Regions from separate parts of the Homo sapiens genome. Here region 1 is linked to region 2. Evidence: promoter capture Hi-C in human tissues and cell types (Jung and others, 2019). All regions are on one chromosome and are shown on one strand. The core of a region is centred on a gene start or on the middle of the fragment in contact, and the rest is flanking DNA. Distances in the headings are between cores, read along the strand shown.

Region 1 (7,165 bases), core at 1-2,500, 130 kb before region 2:
GGGTTGGGAGCTGGGTGGGGTGGCATGGTGGGGTCTTGGATGAAGAGGTGGGAGGGCTGCACGGAGGTCCGGAGCTGAGGGCCGGCCCAGGGGTGCTCAAGGGACAAGGGTCTGGAGTTCTCATGGGGCTGTGGCTTCCTCGTCCCCGAAGACCTTGGGGAACAAGAGAACAAGTTGTGACTGTGGCCGACACCCTGGCCAGGTGGCCTGGTGGGGCTACACTCATCTCACAAGGGCAGCCTCCTTGAGGGATAGGATGGGATGGGGCACTGGGGCCTGGCCACCAAGCCACATGGACGTCCTCCACAGACCACACAATAAAAACATCCCGGCCAGGCATGGTGGCTCACACCTGTAATCCCAGCATTTCGGGAGGCCGAGGCGGGCAGATCACCAGAGGTCGGGAGTTCGAGATCAACCTAACATGGTGAAACCTCATCGCTACTAAATATACAAAATTAGCTGGGCGCCTGTCATCCCTGCTACTCTGGAGGCTGGGGCCCGAGAATGGCTGGAACTGGGGAAGTGGAGGTTACAGTGAGCCGGGATCACGCCACCGCACTCCAGCCTGGGTGACAGAGTGAGGCTCAGTCTCAGGAATAAAAAAGACAACAAAAAACCAACCCTCATTTGCCTGTAATCCCAATACTCTGGGAGGCCAAGGTGGGTGGATCGCCTGAGGTCAGGAGTTCAAGAACAGCCTGGCCAACATGGCAAAACCATGACTCTACTCAAAAAATACAAAAAATTACCCAAGTGTGGTGGTGGATACCAGTAATTCTAGTTACTCGGGAGGCTGAGGCAGGAGAATCGCTTGAACCTGGGAGGCAGAGGTTGCGGTGAGCTGAGATTGCACCACTGCACTCCAGCCTAGGCAAGAGTGAGACTCCATCTCAAAAAAAAAAAAAAAAAAAAAAAATGGCCAGGCGCGGTAATCCCAGCACGCTGGGAGGCCGAGGCGGGTGGATCATCTGAGGTCAGGAGTTCAAGACCAGCCTGGCCAACATGGTGAAACCCTGTTTCTACAAAAATACAAAAAGTTAACTGGGCATAATAGTGGGTGCCTGTAATCCCAGCTACTCAGGTGGGTTAGACAGGAGAACCACTTGAACCTGGGAGGTGGAGGTTGCAGTGCGTTGACACTGGCCTGTTGCACTCCAGCCTGAGCCACAGGAGCGAAACCCCATCTCAAAAAAAAAAAAAAAAAAAAAAAAAGGCCAGGCGCGGTGGCTCACGCCTGTAATCCCAGCACTTTGGGAGGCTGAGGAGGGCGGATCACGAGGTCAAGAGATCGAGACCGTCCTGGCTAACACGGTGAAACCCCACCTCTACTAAAAAAATACAAAAAATTAGCCGGGCGTGGTGGCGGGCGCCTGCAGTCCCAGCTGCTCTTGAGGCTGAGGCAGGAGAATGGCATGAACCCGGGAGGCGAGGCTTGCAGTGAGCTGAGATCAGGCCACTGCACTCCAGCCTGGGCAACAGAGCAAGACTCCGTCTCAAAAAAAAAAAAAAAAAATTCTTTCATGGAGACTTTTTTTTTTTCTTTTTTTGAGACAGAGTTTTGCTCTTGTTGCCCAGGCTGCAGTGCAATGGCTCGACCTCGGATCTCGGCTCACTGCAATCTCCGCCTCCCAGGTTCAAGCGACTCTCCTGCCTCAGCCACCGAGTAGCTGGGATTACTGGCACTCGCCACCACACACGGCTAATTTTTTGTATTTTTTTTAGTAGAGATGGAGTTTTTGTCATGTTGGCCAGTCTGGTCTCGAACTCCGGACCTCAAGCGATCCACCTGCCTCGGCCTCCCAAAGTGCTGGGATGAGGCTTCTTTTTTTACATTTTATTTTTAACAGCTTTACTGGGATACAAATTATATACTAATCCTAGAGGCCGGCGGATAGCTTTGAGTCCAGGAGGCTGAGACTGCAGTGAACGGTGTGATTACACCACTGCACTTCAGCCAGGGTGACAGAGGGAGACTCTGTCGCAAAAAATTAAAAAAAAAGTCTTAATGAATAAAAAGTATAAGTATGTCTCAAAGTGGAATGTATTAATACTTATCCTAAAATATGGGACATGCAATATTTAGTATATACAGCTATTTAAAAAAAGGATTCGGCCGGGCACGGTGGCTCACGCCTGTAATCCTAGCACTCCAGGAGGCCGAGGCAGGCGGATCACCAAAGGTTGGGAGTTCGAGATCAGCCTAACATGGCAACCACCCCCTGCCCCGGTCTCTACTAAAAATACAAAAATCAGCCGGGCGTGGTGGCTCACGCCTGTAATCCCAGCTACTCGGGAGGCTGAGGCAGGAGAATTGCTTGAACCCAGGAGGTGGAGGTTGCAGTTAGCCAAGATTGCACCACTGCACTCCAGCCCGGGCGACAGAGCTAGACTCCGTCTCAAAAAAAAAGACTCGAAGGCCAGGAATGGTGGCTCATGCCTGTAGTCCCAGCATTTTGGGAGGCCAAGGTGGGAGGATCACTTGAGCCCAAAAGCTTGAGACCCAGCTGGGCAACACACTGAGACCCCCTCTACAAAAAATGAGCCAGGCAAGGTGCTGTGCACCCCTGTTCCCTCGGGAGCCCCAGAAAAACGATGAGCCCGTCCCCACCTCAGTCAGCACCGATGGGGACCCCAAGGCCTTGCGGGACAGGCTTCCAACACAGGCAGGAGGGCCACGCCCCAGGCGCTCAGCTGCCTCACAAGTTCTCATCAAGTAATGTGGAGGGAGATGCGTCCTGGCCAGGGCCTGGGTGAGGGTGGGGGGCAGATCAGGACCTAAGTCTGAGGAAGCTGGGGCCATCCACCCACCAGGGCCAACACTTCCCAGCTGACCTGCCTCTGACCACGACAGGAAGGTGGGGGGTACCACCTCTGTGGGGCCCCTGGCCCTCCTGCTGGGTTCCGGGCACGAGTGCAGGCCCAGGGGGCGAGCAGGAGCAACACCAAGACCGGCCCGGCGGGCAGCGGCAGGGGCTGGACCTGTGGCGCCGGGGCCTTGCTCCACACCACACACGAGGCCTCTGCCCTTCTGGGAGGAGAGAAGTGCTCACGCTACACAAGAGCCTTCCCCAGCCCTCAGCAGGACGGCCAGGTGTGAGCACAGAAGGCTCCTCCGTGGGCACCTCGGGAGTGATGGTCAGTGGGGGCCTTCCCAGGTGACTTAGGTCATTCTCATGTGGGGGTCAGACTGGAAATGACCTCCCGAGAGCATCTGTGCTGCCTGCGGGGTGACAGCCACGTCAGCTTCCCTCCTGCTCGGGGCTTCAGGGACAGCCTCTCTCTGGGGACATGAGGTTTTCCTCCTGGAGACGTGGGGCCCAGGGAGCCTGCTGGAGGGTGCCCGGGAGGGTGCCACAGTGACAGGGGAAGTGTGAGGCGTCACAGGCGACACTCGCCACACACACTGAAGCTGCACACACTGAGACTGTGCGGAGGCCAGGGGTGGCAAAGCAGGCCCCACGAGGCTGGCTGCGTGCGGGGTGCTCACCCGTGGCCGGTCCTGCGGTGCCTGCTGATCTCCTTTTCCCCCTCAATGATCCACTGCATGATTTTCTGGTTCTTCTCCGCATCCTCCGAGGCACCTGGCACCTCGGTGCTGGCGCTCTTCCCCGACTCAGCCTTCTTGGCATTTCTTTTGCACGCCACGCCCACCTTCCCACTGCAAGGGCAAGAGCTGCGAGTCGCCCTGGCCTCCGGTGGCCGAGGCTGTGCCCCTTCCTCGTCTGCGAGGCCCCCTCCTGGCATCTGTAAGGCTCCCGTGGTGCAGCCGCCGCCCGCTGTCCCCTGCCCGCTTGTCCCCCACCCGCTGTCCCCCGCCAGCTTGTCCCCCACCCGCTGTCCCCTGCCCGCTGTCCTGGTGCTGTCTGGGGGTTGGTTTCCTCTCTAAACACACAGGCAGTCACTGCTCACCCCCTGAAGACTGAGGGCCAGAGCGGGAGCCAGGGTCGGGCTGTGTCCCCTAACCTTCATCTCCCACCTGAGGTCACGGCGTGGACTCCCCTGACCCAGGGCCCAGTCCACTCCCTCCAGCAGAGGGGCCTCCTGCCTGTTGCTGGCGGTCCTGGGTTTCCTGAGTTTTATGAGGAGGTTCTGGCCTTCTGCAGGGACACAGCCTCACCCCAAGCCCCCTCCTCACTGACAGGCGCACGCTCACCTGTGGGCGAGGCCATCACTGGCGTTGGGGGCAGCGCCAACACTCTCTGAGTAGCCTCGGGACCTTGCCCCATGGCTGTGTGGTTCCAGGCCCCAGGCGAAGCTGCTCTGGGCCCTGCGGGTGGCCTCGGCCTCCACCTGCTCCTTGGGCCGGGCTGTGCTGTGGTGGACGTGGTGGTGGACGTGTCGGTGGTGGTGCAGGCCGGCCGCGTCCAGCTTCGCCCCTGACTTGGGTACGTGCTTCCCGTGCCCCGAGGCGGCACCCCCCAGTGCCACTGGCATCTTGGCCACGTGCCCACTGTCCGGGGAGCGATGGCCAGGCCCAGGCGACTGGCGGCCAGGTGTCCTCAGCACACGCTGTACGTGCTCGTCCAGGATGCTCTCAGGGTTCTCCTCGTGTGCATCCCGGAGCCCGGCACAGCCCATGTCCACACAGCGGGGCGGGAAGTGGTGCCAAGCGGGGGCGGGAGGCAGCTTGTGACACGGCCCTGGGGGCCCTGACGATGGATCGCCGTCCTCACCTTCCTCCTCCTGTGTGGGGACAAGCAGCACCATCACCTCTCAGCACCAGCTGCACACTTGGGGAAAACAAAAAGCATCAGGCCTGACCCAGCAGCCCCAGCAGATGCCGTCCCAGCCCAGGGTGGCCGGGGGCCCCTCGCCACCGGTCCTGTCCCTGAGGATGGAGAGGCAGGACGGGGCATAGACAGAAGGAGCGGAGACAGCAAGGCCTCAAGGAATGCAGCGTATGTATCGGCTGTGGGCAGAGCTCTGCACAGATTTAGTTTAGTTTTATTCTTTTTTTGAGACAAGTTCTTGCTCTGTTGCCCAGGCTGGAGAACAGTGGTGTGATCTCAGCTCACTGCAGCCTCCGCCTCCTAGGCTCAAGCGATCCTCCCACCTCAGCCTCCAGAATAGCGGAGACCACAGCCGTGTGCCACCACGCCCAGCTAATTTTTTTGTACTTTGGGGACAGATGCGATTCTCACCATATTGGCCAGGCTGGTCTCGAATGCCTGAGCTCAAGCAATCTGCCTGCCTTGGCCTGTATATATATATATTTTTTGAGACAGAGTCTTGCTCTGTTACCCAGGCTGGAGTGCAATGGTGCCATCTCGGCTCCCTGCAACCTCTGCCTCCTGGGTTCAAGTGATTCTCCTCCTTCAGCCTCCCAAGTAGCTGAGACTACAGGTGTGCGCCACCACACCCAGCTAATTTTTGTATTTTTAGTAGAGACAGGATTTCACTATGTTGGCCAGGCTGGTCTCGAACTCCTGACCTCATGATCCACCCACCTCGGCCTCCCAAAGTGTTGGGATGACAGGCATGAGCCGCCGCGCCCGGCCTCCCATTATATTTTAAGGAGAACCTTGTACAGAACGGCTCTTGGGTTATGTACATGTTGTGATGCTGCCTGACGAGCTTCCACATGAAGCCGGTGGAGTTTCACTTGATTCTCCAAGTTAACAGGTGCTGAAGCTTATCTGTCAGAGCAAACATTTGATCACTTTAATTCCAAGTTGCATCTCATACTTATTTTCTCATCTTATTGGACTGACAAACTAAAACAGTATTGAGTAAATCTGGTGTCAATACAAAAGAAAGAGAGGGAACTAAGTTACCATGTATCTATGTATGTATTTATTTATTTAGAGTCAGAGTCGCTCTGTCAGCCAGGCTGGAGTGCAGTGGCACGATCTTGGCTCACTGCAACCTCCACCTCCCGGGCTCAAGCAATCCTCCTGCCTCAGCCTACCGAGTAGCTGGGATTATAGGAGTGTGCCACCATGCCTGCCTAATTTTTTTGTATTTTTAGTAGAGACGGGGTTTCACCATGTTGGCCAGGCTGGTCTCAAACTCCTAACCTCAGGTAATCCACCACCCTCGGCCTCCCAAAGTGCTGGGATTACAGGAGTGAGCCACCACAACCGGCCTATTTATTTTCATTTTTTTGAGACAGAGTCTCGCTCTGTCACCCAGGCTGGAGTGCAGTGGCACGATCTCGGCTCACTGCAACCTCCGTCTCCCGGGTTCACACCATTCTCCTGCCTCAGCCTGCCCAGTAGCTGGGACTACAGGTGCCCGCCACCACGCCCGGCTAATTTTTTATATTTTTAGTAGAGATGGAGTTTCACCGTGTTAGCCAGGATGGTCTCGATCTCCCGACCTCGTGATCTGCCCACCTCGGCCTCCCAAAGTGCTGGGATTACAAGTGTGAGCCACCGTGCCCGGCCTATTTTTATTTATTTAATTTTTTTTTGAGACGGAGTTTCACTCTTGTGTCCCAGGCTGTAGTGCAATCTCCGCCTCCCGGGTTCAAGTAATTCTCCTGCCTCAGCCTCCCGGGTAGCTGGGATTACAGGCACCCACCACCATGCCCAGCTAAATTTTTTGTATTTTTAGTAGAGACTGGGTTTCACCCTGTTTGCCAGGCTGGTCTCGAACTCCTGACCTCAGGTGATCCACCCACCTTGGCCTCCCAAAGTGCTAGGATTACAGGTGTGAGCCACCACACCTAATCGCAGTGGTGCCATCACAGCTCAAGGCAGCCTCAACCTCCAGGGGTCAAGCGATCCTCCTGCTTCAGCCTGCCAAGTAGCTGGGACTACAGGTGCATGCCACCATGTCCCATTAATTTTTTCTTTTTCTTTTTTTTTTGTAGAGATGGGGAATCTCACTATGTTGTCCAACCTGCTCTTAAATTCCTGGCCTCAAGTGATCCTTCTGTCTTGGCCTCTCAAAGTGTTGGGATTACAGATGTGAGCCACTGTGCCCCACCTACCTCTATATTTTAATATAAACAAACCTCCCAACGTTTAGCACCCAACTCTCACACCTGCAAAAGTATCCAAATGCAACTGGAACAGGCGTGCCCCAGAGCTGGTGTGGGCTTGGCTGCGGGCACCTGCACTGGGGCTGAGGGTGAAATATGGCACTAAAGAGGACAGACGGATGCTGGAGCAGAGCCGGGGGACAGGTGGGTGGTGGGCATCCCCTGGCGGATGCAGCT
Region 2 (7,502 bases), core at 5,003-7,502:
GGTTTCACCATATTGGCCAGGCTGGTCTTGATCTCCTGACCTCGTGATCCACCCACCTTGGCCTCCCAAAGTGCTGGGATTACAGGCGTGAGCCACCGCACCCGGCCTATGCTAAGTTTTTAAACGTTTTCTTACTTTAGAGAGGGAGTTTTGCCCCGTTGCCCAGGCTGGAGTGCAGGGCTATTCACAGGCACAATCACAGCTCACTACAGCTTCAAATTACTGGACTCCAGCATTATGCTAAGTGAAATAAGCCAGTCAGAGAAAGAAGACTTCATGGTCTCATTTATATGTGGAATCCAGAAAAACCTCTGGGTCTTAAGAGCTCCTCCCACCTCAGTCTCTTGAGTAGCCGGGACTACAGGTGTGCACCACCACACCTGGCTAATGTTTTTTTGTTTGTTTTTTGAACTCCTGGGCTTAAGTGATCCTCCTGCCTCAGCCTCCCAAAGTGCTGGGATTACAGGCATGACCCACTGTGCCCAGTGGAAATGAATGTTATAGATATAGTCAAAGTTGTACTTCACCCTTTCTCTTCTGTCTGTCCTCTTGAATATAATTCTTTTTTCTTTCTTTCTTTTTTTTTTTTTTTTTGAGACAGAGTCTCGCTCTGTTACCCAGGCTGGAGTGCAATGGTGTGATCTCAGCTCACTGCAACCTCCGTCTCCGGGGTTCTAGCAATTCTCCTGCCTCAGCCTCCCCAGTAGCTGGGATTACAGGCATGCGCCACCATGCCTGGCTAATTTTTTGTATTTTTGTAGAGACAGGTTTCAGTATTTTGGCCAGGCTGGTCTTGAACTCCTGACCTCAAGTGATCCACCCCATTGGCCTCCCAAAGTTGGGATTACAGGTGTGAGCCACCGCACACGGCCTCAATGTAATTCTCAAGTATGTTTAGGTATTTTTTACTACAAACGAAAGCATTTGAAAACAAGATAGGTCATTGATCATGTGTTTTTAAACTTAACAAAAATTGGCTAGGCACGTTGGCTCACGCCTGTAATCCTAGCACTTTGGGAAGCCAAGGCGGGCAGATCACCTGAGGTCAGGAGTTCCAGATCAGCCTGGCCGAGATGGTGCAACCCCGTCTCTACGAAAAATACAAAAATTAGCTGGGTGTGGTGGCGGGCACCTGTAATCCCAGCTACTCGGGAGGCTGAGGCAGGAGAATCGCTTGAACCCAGGAGATGGAGGCTGCCGTGAGCTGAGACCGTGCCACTGCACTCCGGCCTGGGCAACAAGAACAGAATTCTGTCTAAAAAAATAAATGAAAAATGGTATTACATAGCATGTACTATCAATTGTGCAGATGTGGTGCACTCACTTAAACTGCTACACTTCACAACAGACAACAGGCTCCACTGAAGCCGTTCGGCTCTTCTTCCAGAGAAGTACAAATCCCCGAAGGAAACAAGGTCTTTCCATCTCCCTGCGGACATGTGCAGTTTCTCCGGCAGGTACTGGAAGGCGGATCCCACACTGGAGTATTCCGACCTTCAGCTGCACGACTGGTGCCAAATCCCCACTCCCTGGTGTCCCCAGACTTACTCTGATTGGTGTCAAGGGCTACACTCACACATTTTCCTGGTGACCAGTGAAGATGAGCATCTTTTTCATGTGTTTACCGGCCACCTGAATTTCCTCTTCTGGAGCTGCTTATTCATATTCTTTCCTCGTTTTTCTATCGGGTTGCTGTTCGTTTACTGTTTTTTGAGAAATTCTTTTGTGTATTCTAGAAATGAATATTTTGTCCATTAAATCCATTCTAACTCTCTCTTCCCAGTTGCTACCCCAAAATTTATATATTGGAGTCCTAACGCCAACGGGATGGTATTTGGAGATGAGGTCTTTGGGAGGTATAACTTAGGGTTAGGGCCGGGCGCGGTGGCTCACGCCTGTAATCCCAGCACTTTGGGATGCCGAGGCGGGTGGATCATGAGCTCAGGAGATCGAGACCATCCTGGTTAACACGGTGAAACCCCGGCTCTAGTAAAAATACAAAACAATTAGCCAGGCATGGTGGCGGGTGCCTGTGGTCCCAGCTACTGGGGAGGCTGAGGCAGGAGAATGGCATGAATCCGGGAGGCAGAGATTGCAGTGAGCTGAGATGGCGCCATTGCACTTCAGCCTGGACGACAGAGCAAGACTCCGTCTCAAAAAAAAATAATAATAATAATAATTAGGGTTAGATACGGTCAGCAAGGTGGGGCCCTCACGATGGGAACAGTGCCCTTATTAGAAGAGACAGTCTTTTTTTTTCTTTTTTCTTTTTTTGAGACGGAGTTTCACTCTTGCTGCCCAGGCTGGAGTGCCATGGCACAATCTCGATTCACTGCAACCTCCGCCTCCCAGGTTCTAGTGATTCTCCTGCCTCAGCCTCCCAAGTAGCTGGGATTACAGGCATGCACCACCATGCCTGGCTAATTTTTTGTATTTTTAGTAGAGATGGGGTTTCACCATGGCAAGCCTGGTCTTGAACTCCTGACCTCAGGTAATCCACCCGCATCGGTCTCCCAGAGTGCTGGGATTACAGGCGTGAGGCACCGTGCCCAGCCTTATTTTTATTTTATTGTTTTCCTTGAGATGGAGTTTCCCTCTTGTTGCCCAGGCTGGAGTGCAATGGTGGGATCTTGGCTCACTGCAACCTCCACCTCCCGGGTTCAAGTATTCTCCTGCCTCAGCCTCCCAGGTAGCTGGGATTACAGGACACGCCACCACGCTCAGCTAGTTTTTGTATTTTTAGTAGAGACAGGGTTTTACCATGTTGGCCAGGCTAGTCTCGAACTCCTGACCTCAGGTTATCCACCCGCCTTGGCCTCCTAAAGTGTTGGGATTACAGGCGTGAGCCATTACGCCCGCCTTTTTTTTTTTTTTGAGATAGTCTCGCTCTGTTGCCCAGGCTGGAGTGTAGTGGCTGGATCTCAGCTCATTGCAACCTCTGCCTCCCAGGCTCAAGTGATTACCCTGTTCAGCCTCCTGAGTAGCTGGGATTACACGCACCCGCCACCGCCCCCGGATAATTTTTTTTCTTTTTTTTTGAGACAGAGTCTCACTCCATCACCCAGGCTGCAGTACAGTGGTGTGATCTTGACTCACTGCAACCTCCACCTCCCGGGTTCAAGCAATTCTTTGCCTCAGCCTCCTGAGTAGCTGGGATTACAGGTGCCCGCCACCACGGCCGGCTAATATATACATATATTTTTTAGGTGGAGTCTCGCTCTGTCGCCAGGCTGGAGTGCAGTGGTGCGATCTTCGCTCACTGCAACCTCTGCCTCCCAGGTTCAAGCGATTCTCCTCCCTCAGGCTCCCGAGTAGCTGGGACTACAGGTGGGTGCCACCACACCCGGCTAATTTTTGTATTTTTAGTAGAGACAGGGTTTCACCATGTTTGCCAGGATGTTTTCGATCTCTTGACCTTGTGATCCGCCCACCTTGCCTCCCAAAGTGCTGGGATTATAGGCTGAGCAACCGCGCCCGGCCTAAATTTTCTATTTTTTAGTAGATACGGGGTTTCACCATCTTGGCCAGGCTGGTCTTGAACTCCTGACCTCGTGATCCACCCGCCTCGGCCTCCCAAAGTGCTGGAATTACAGGCATGAGCTCCCACGCCCAGCCCAAAAGAGACAATCTTTCTCCAACATGTGAGGACAGAGTGAGAAGATGGAGGCTATGCTTTGAATGTTTATACCCTCCAAAACGCATGTTGAGGCCAAGTGTGGTGACTCATGCCAATAATCCCAGCACTTTGGGAGGCCGAGGTGGGCGGATCACTTGAGGTCAGGAGTTTGAGACCAGCTTGACCAACATGGTGAAACCCCGGTCTCTACTAAAAATACAAAAAATTAGCCGGCCTTGGTGGCATACGCCTGTAATCCCAGCTACTCAGGAGGCTGAGGTAGGGGAATCACTTGAACCCGGGAGGCGGAGGTTGCAGTGACCAGAGATCGCGCCATTGCACTCCAGCCTGGGCGACAGAGTGAGACTCCATATCAAAAAAAAAAAAAAGATAATAAGGTGCTGCAGATCTGTGGTCTCAGCTACTGGAGAGGCTGAGGTGGGAGGATCTCTCTTCTATTTTTATTTTTTATTTTGGAGACGGAGTCTTGCTCTATCATCCAGGCTGGAGTGCAATGGTGCAATCTTGGCTCGCTGCAAGCTCTGCCTCCCGGGTTCACGCCTTTCTCCTGCCTCAGCCTCCCAAATAGCTGGGACTACAGGTGCCTGCCACCACACCTGGCTAATTTTTGTTTTTTTGTATTTTTAGTAGAGACGGGGTTTCACCGTGTTAGCCAGGATGGTCTCCATTTTCTGACCTCGTGATCCGCCCGCCTCAGCCTCCCACAGTCCTGGGATTACAGGCATGAGCTACCACACCTGGCCTAAGGTGGGAGGATCTCTTGAGCCTAGGAGGTTGAGGCTGCCGTGAGCTATGGTCGCACCACTGCACTGCAGCCTGGGCAACAGAGCAAAACCCTGTCTCGGGGAAAAAAAAGAAAAGAAAAGAAAAGAAGGAACTGCTACAGCCCACAGCCTACAAAGGGGACACAGATAGTAGCTCTGAACAGCAGACGGATAGACGGGAACTTGTCCCTTTAGTCTTTCATGAACAGCCTCTAACTGGTCCAGGCAGGGAGGTGCAGGCTTCCAGGCTGTGGTTCCATGGAGGACACCAGCCGGGCACGCAATGGACGTTTTCCAGCCCTAGCACAGACAGAGCGTGCGGGCCCCTGCTCTCAGAAAGCCAGCCTTCTGCCTCTGGCAGCGCCGGCACATAAAAGCAGAGGGAGCCTGCTGTCTCTGCCTCGCCCACACTAACACCCCTATTTAGAAAGGTTGACACATCACTATCACTGCTTCTGAAAATTTTATCCGGCCGAAGGCATCAGCCCAAATTTGAATTCTTGCCAAAGCTGCTGGTGATTTCGTTCTTTGAATGCAGTATCTTCCTCATGAACACGTACAGCTCTTACAAGAAAATGAGAATACGGTTTGGGGAGGAGGATCCCTCACATTCCTTTTCCTAATGCCAGCCTCGCGAAGTCTGGTCCCATGTACCCTGGGATTCTGCCACGGAAGATGACTCACTTAATTAACACGCTGCTCCTGACCGTACACTTGGAAGCAGAGGTTCCGTTCCTTTGGTTCTTGCCAAAGCTGCTTACGAAACCATATCTTGTGTTGGTGCCCATGGTGTGTAAAAATACAAGTTCATCATTTCCCTGATACAAATTATGACAGGCTAAATTTAGTGCCTCACCTGTCCTAACTAGCTTTCCCACCATCATGCCTGCCGCCGGGCTGTGGTCCTTTCTGAGGTCCCGTGTCCCTCTGAGGACAGGGACACCCAGACACAGAGGTCAGTTGTCAGACGCGGCCACGGTGCTCGGGAGGCTGGCTGCAGACGGGCGATTCACCCTGGGTGTCTTCTTGAGTCTTATTTTTTGTAGAGACGAGGTCTCGCTTTGGTGCTCAGGCTGGTCTCAATCTCCTGGGCGCAAGCGATCCTCCCGCTTGGGCGTGGGCCAGCGCGCCCGTCCCAACGCTGGGAGTCCCGGAGATCTTGGTCACAGGCTTAAGGGAAAGGCCTAGCGCGTGGCCGCGCGTGCCTCTGGTTTCAAGGGACATGGACTGCGTGTCTGGGGCCCCTCCGCACTCCGTGTCAGACCCTGCGTCCCCCGGGTCCGCGCGGGACCCGGGCAGGGCGTCGCCCTCTGCGGCGTCTGCGCCCCGCGAACCCTGGGGCACCTGCAACCCCTGGGCCGCGGAGCCAGGCGTGCGCCGCCTCCTGGTCTCATCAACGTGAGAACGCTTTACCCCCGAAGAGCTCAGCTCCTAGGGGGCTATGTCCCTTTGCGTCTCTCGCTCGCCAGGCGGTGCCGTTTACTCGACCGCACCATGCGTGGGTAGCGGTCGCGCCCGCTGGTAGCTGTGCGGCGGGAACACGTTCTAAGTAAGGCCTGACTCCGCGCGCCTCTTGCCAGGGACGTCACGTCACGCCTCCACTCGCAGCCTCGGAGCACCCCCGCGTCCCGCGCCCGAAGCTCGGGACCCCCGCTCTGGCGAAACGAGGAATATGACATACAGCAAAACACCCCTTCGCGGCCGCTGCACTGCCGCGACACACCCGGCGCCTGCCTCTACAGCAAGCCGGCGAGGGGCTGGGACCCCGCCGGGACGTGCTGACGTCAGGCCCGACGGGGGGCGGGGCCTGGGCGGCGGCGGCGTTAGTTCTCCGGGTACCTCAGGCGCCTCAGCCTCCTTAGTCTCCTCATCCTGCTTCACAGGCTCCGCGGCCTCCGGCCTCCTCGGCCCCCGTCCCCCGGCCTCCTCGGCCCCCGTCCCCCGCCATCCGCCGCCCGGATCCTCGCCGCCCTCCCTAGGCCGCCCCGCCGCCATGGGCCTGCGCCCGCCGCGCCGCCGGGCCGAGGGCAGCTGAGGCGCGGTGCGAAGATGGGCGAGGACAGAGCAGGGCCCGAGCGCCAGCCCCAGCAGCCCGGGCGCCCCGCGCGCGCCCGCCCGCGCCGCCGAGGGGATGCCCGCGCCCGCCGCCGCGCCCTGAGCGCCTTTGTCTGCCGCCCGCGCCCTTCCGCACCACTAGCCTCTCGGGAGCATGGCGTCGGCCCCGCCGGCCTCGCCCCCGGGCTCGGAGCCGCCGGGGCCCGACCCGGAGCCGGGCGGGCCGGACGGGCCGGGGGCGGCACAACTGGCTCCGGGCCCTGCGGAGCTACGCCTCGGAGCGCCCGTCGGCGGCCCCGACCCGCAGTCCCCGGGCCTGGATGAGCCTGCGCCCGGGGCCGCTGCAGATGGCGGGGCGCGTTGGAGCGCCGGGCCGGCCCCGGGGCTGGAGGGAGGCCCGCGAGACCCCGGGCCGTCCGCCCCGCCGCCGCGCTCCGGCCCGCGGGGGCAGCTTGCGAGCCCCGACGCCCCGGGCCCAGGGCCGCGCTCCGAAGCGCCGCTTCCAGAACTCGACCCGTTGTTCTCCTGGACTGAGGAGCCCGAGGAGTGTGGCCCCGCGAGCTGCCCGGAGAGCGCGCCTTTCCGCTTGCAGGGGTCCAGCAGCAGCCACCGAGCGCGGGGCGAGGTCGACGTCTTCTCTCCCTTCCCCGCGCCCACGGCGGGCGAGCTGGCGCTGGAGCAAGGTCCCGGGTCCCCGCCGCAGCCCTCGGACCTCAGCCAGACCCACCCCCTTCCGAGCGAGCCCGTGGGGAGTCAGGAGGACGGCCCCCGCCTCCGAGCCGTGTTCGATGCCCTGGACGGGGATGGGGACGGTTTCGTCCGCATCGAGGACTTCATCCAGTTTGCTACGGTCTACGGGGCAGAGCAGGTACGGAGCGGCCCGGGCCGGGGCGTGGGAACTGGGCAGGTGCGCGCTGGCCGGCGGGGTTGATGTGGGACCGGTCGACGCTGCCCCTGGAGTCGGGAAAGGCACTGTCAAGACCTGACGGTCCTGCTTTTTCTGCTTATTCACCACTTCGGCCCTGGATTTCTGGTTGAATTGCGCT

Evidence for each region. The method cuts DNA at HindIII sites, captures the fragments that hold promoters and counts their contacts. A contact is called where the count stands out against the background at its distance.
Region 1: a fragment that was not itself captured here is called in contact with the fragment with the promoter of RAB11FIP3 in region 2 in 1 of the 25 tissues and cell types used here (dorsolateral prefrontal cortex).

The regions. Positions count from the first base shown.
Region 1 is chr16:293,566-300,730 of GRCh38, forward strand. AXIN1 (axin 1) reads right to left here. Exons shown (of 11, transcript NM_003502.4): 6 at 4,157-4,686; 7 at 3,491-3,661; 8 at 1-153. Among named protein-coding and RNA genes, the nearest start is that of PDIA2, 14 kb to the left of the region's middle. The HindIII fragment of the contact is 5,628 bases long and covers 1-4,064 here.
Region 2 is chr16:419,397-426,898 of GRCh38, forward strand. It overlaps RAB11FIP3 (RAB11 family interacting protein 3), which reads left to right and starts at 6,253. Exons shown (of 14, transcript NM_014700.4): 1 at 6,253-7,324. The coding sequence starts at 6,611. The HindIII fragment of the contact is 17,968 bases long and covers 1-7,502 here.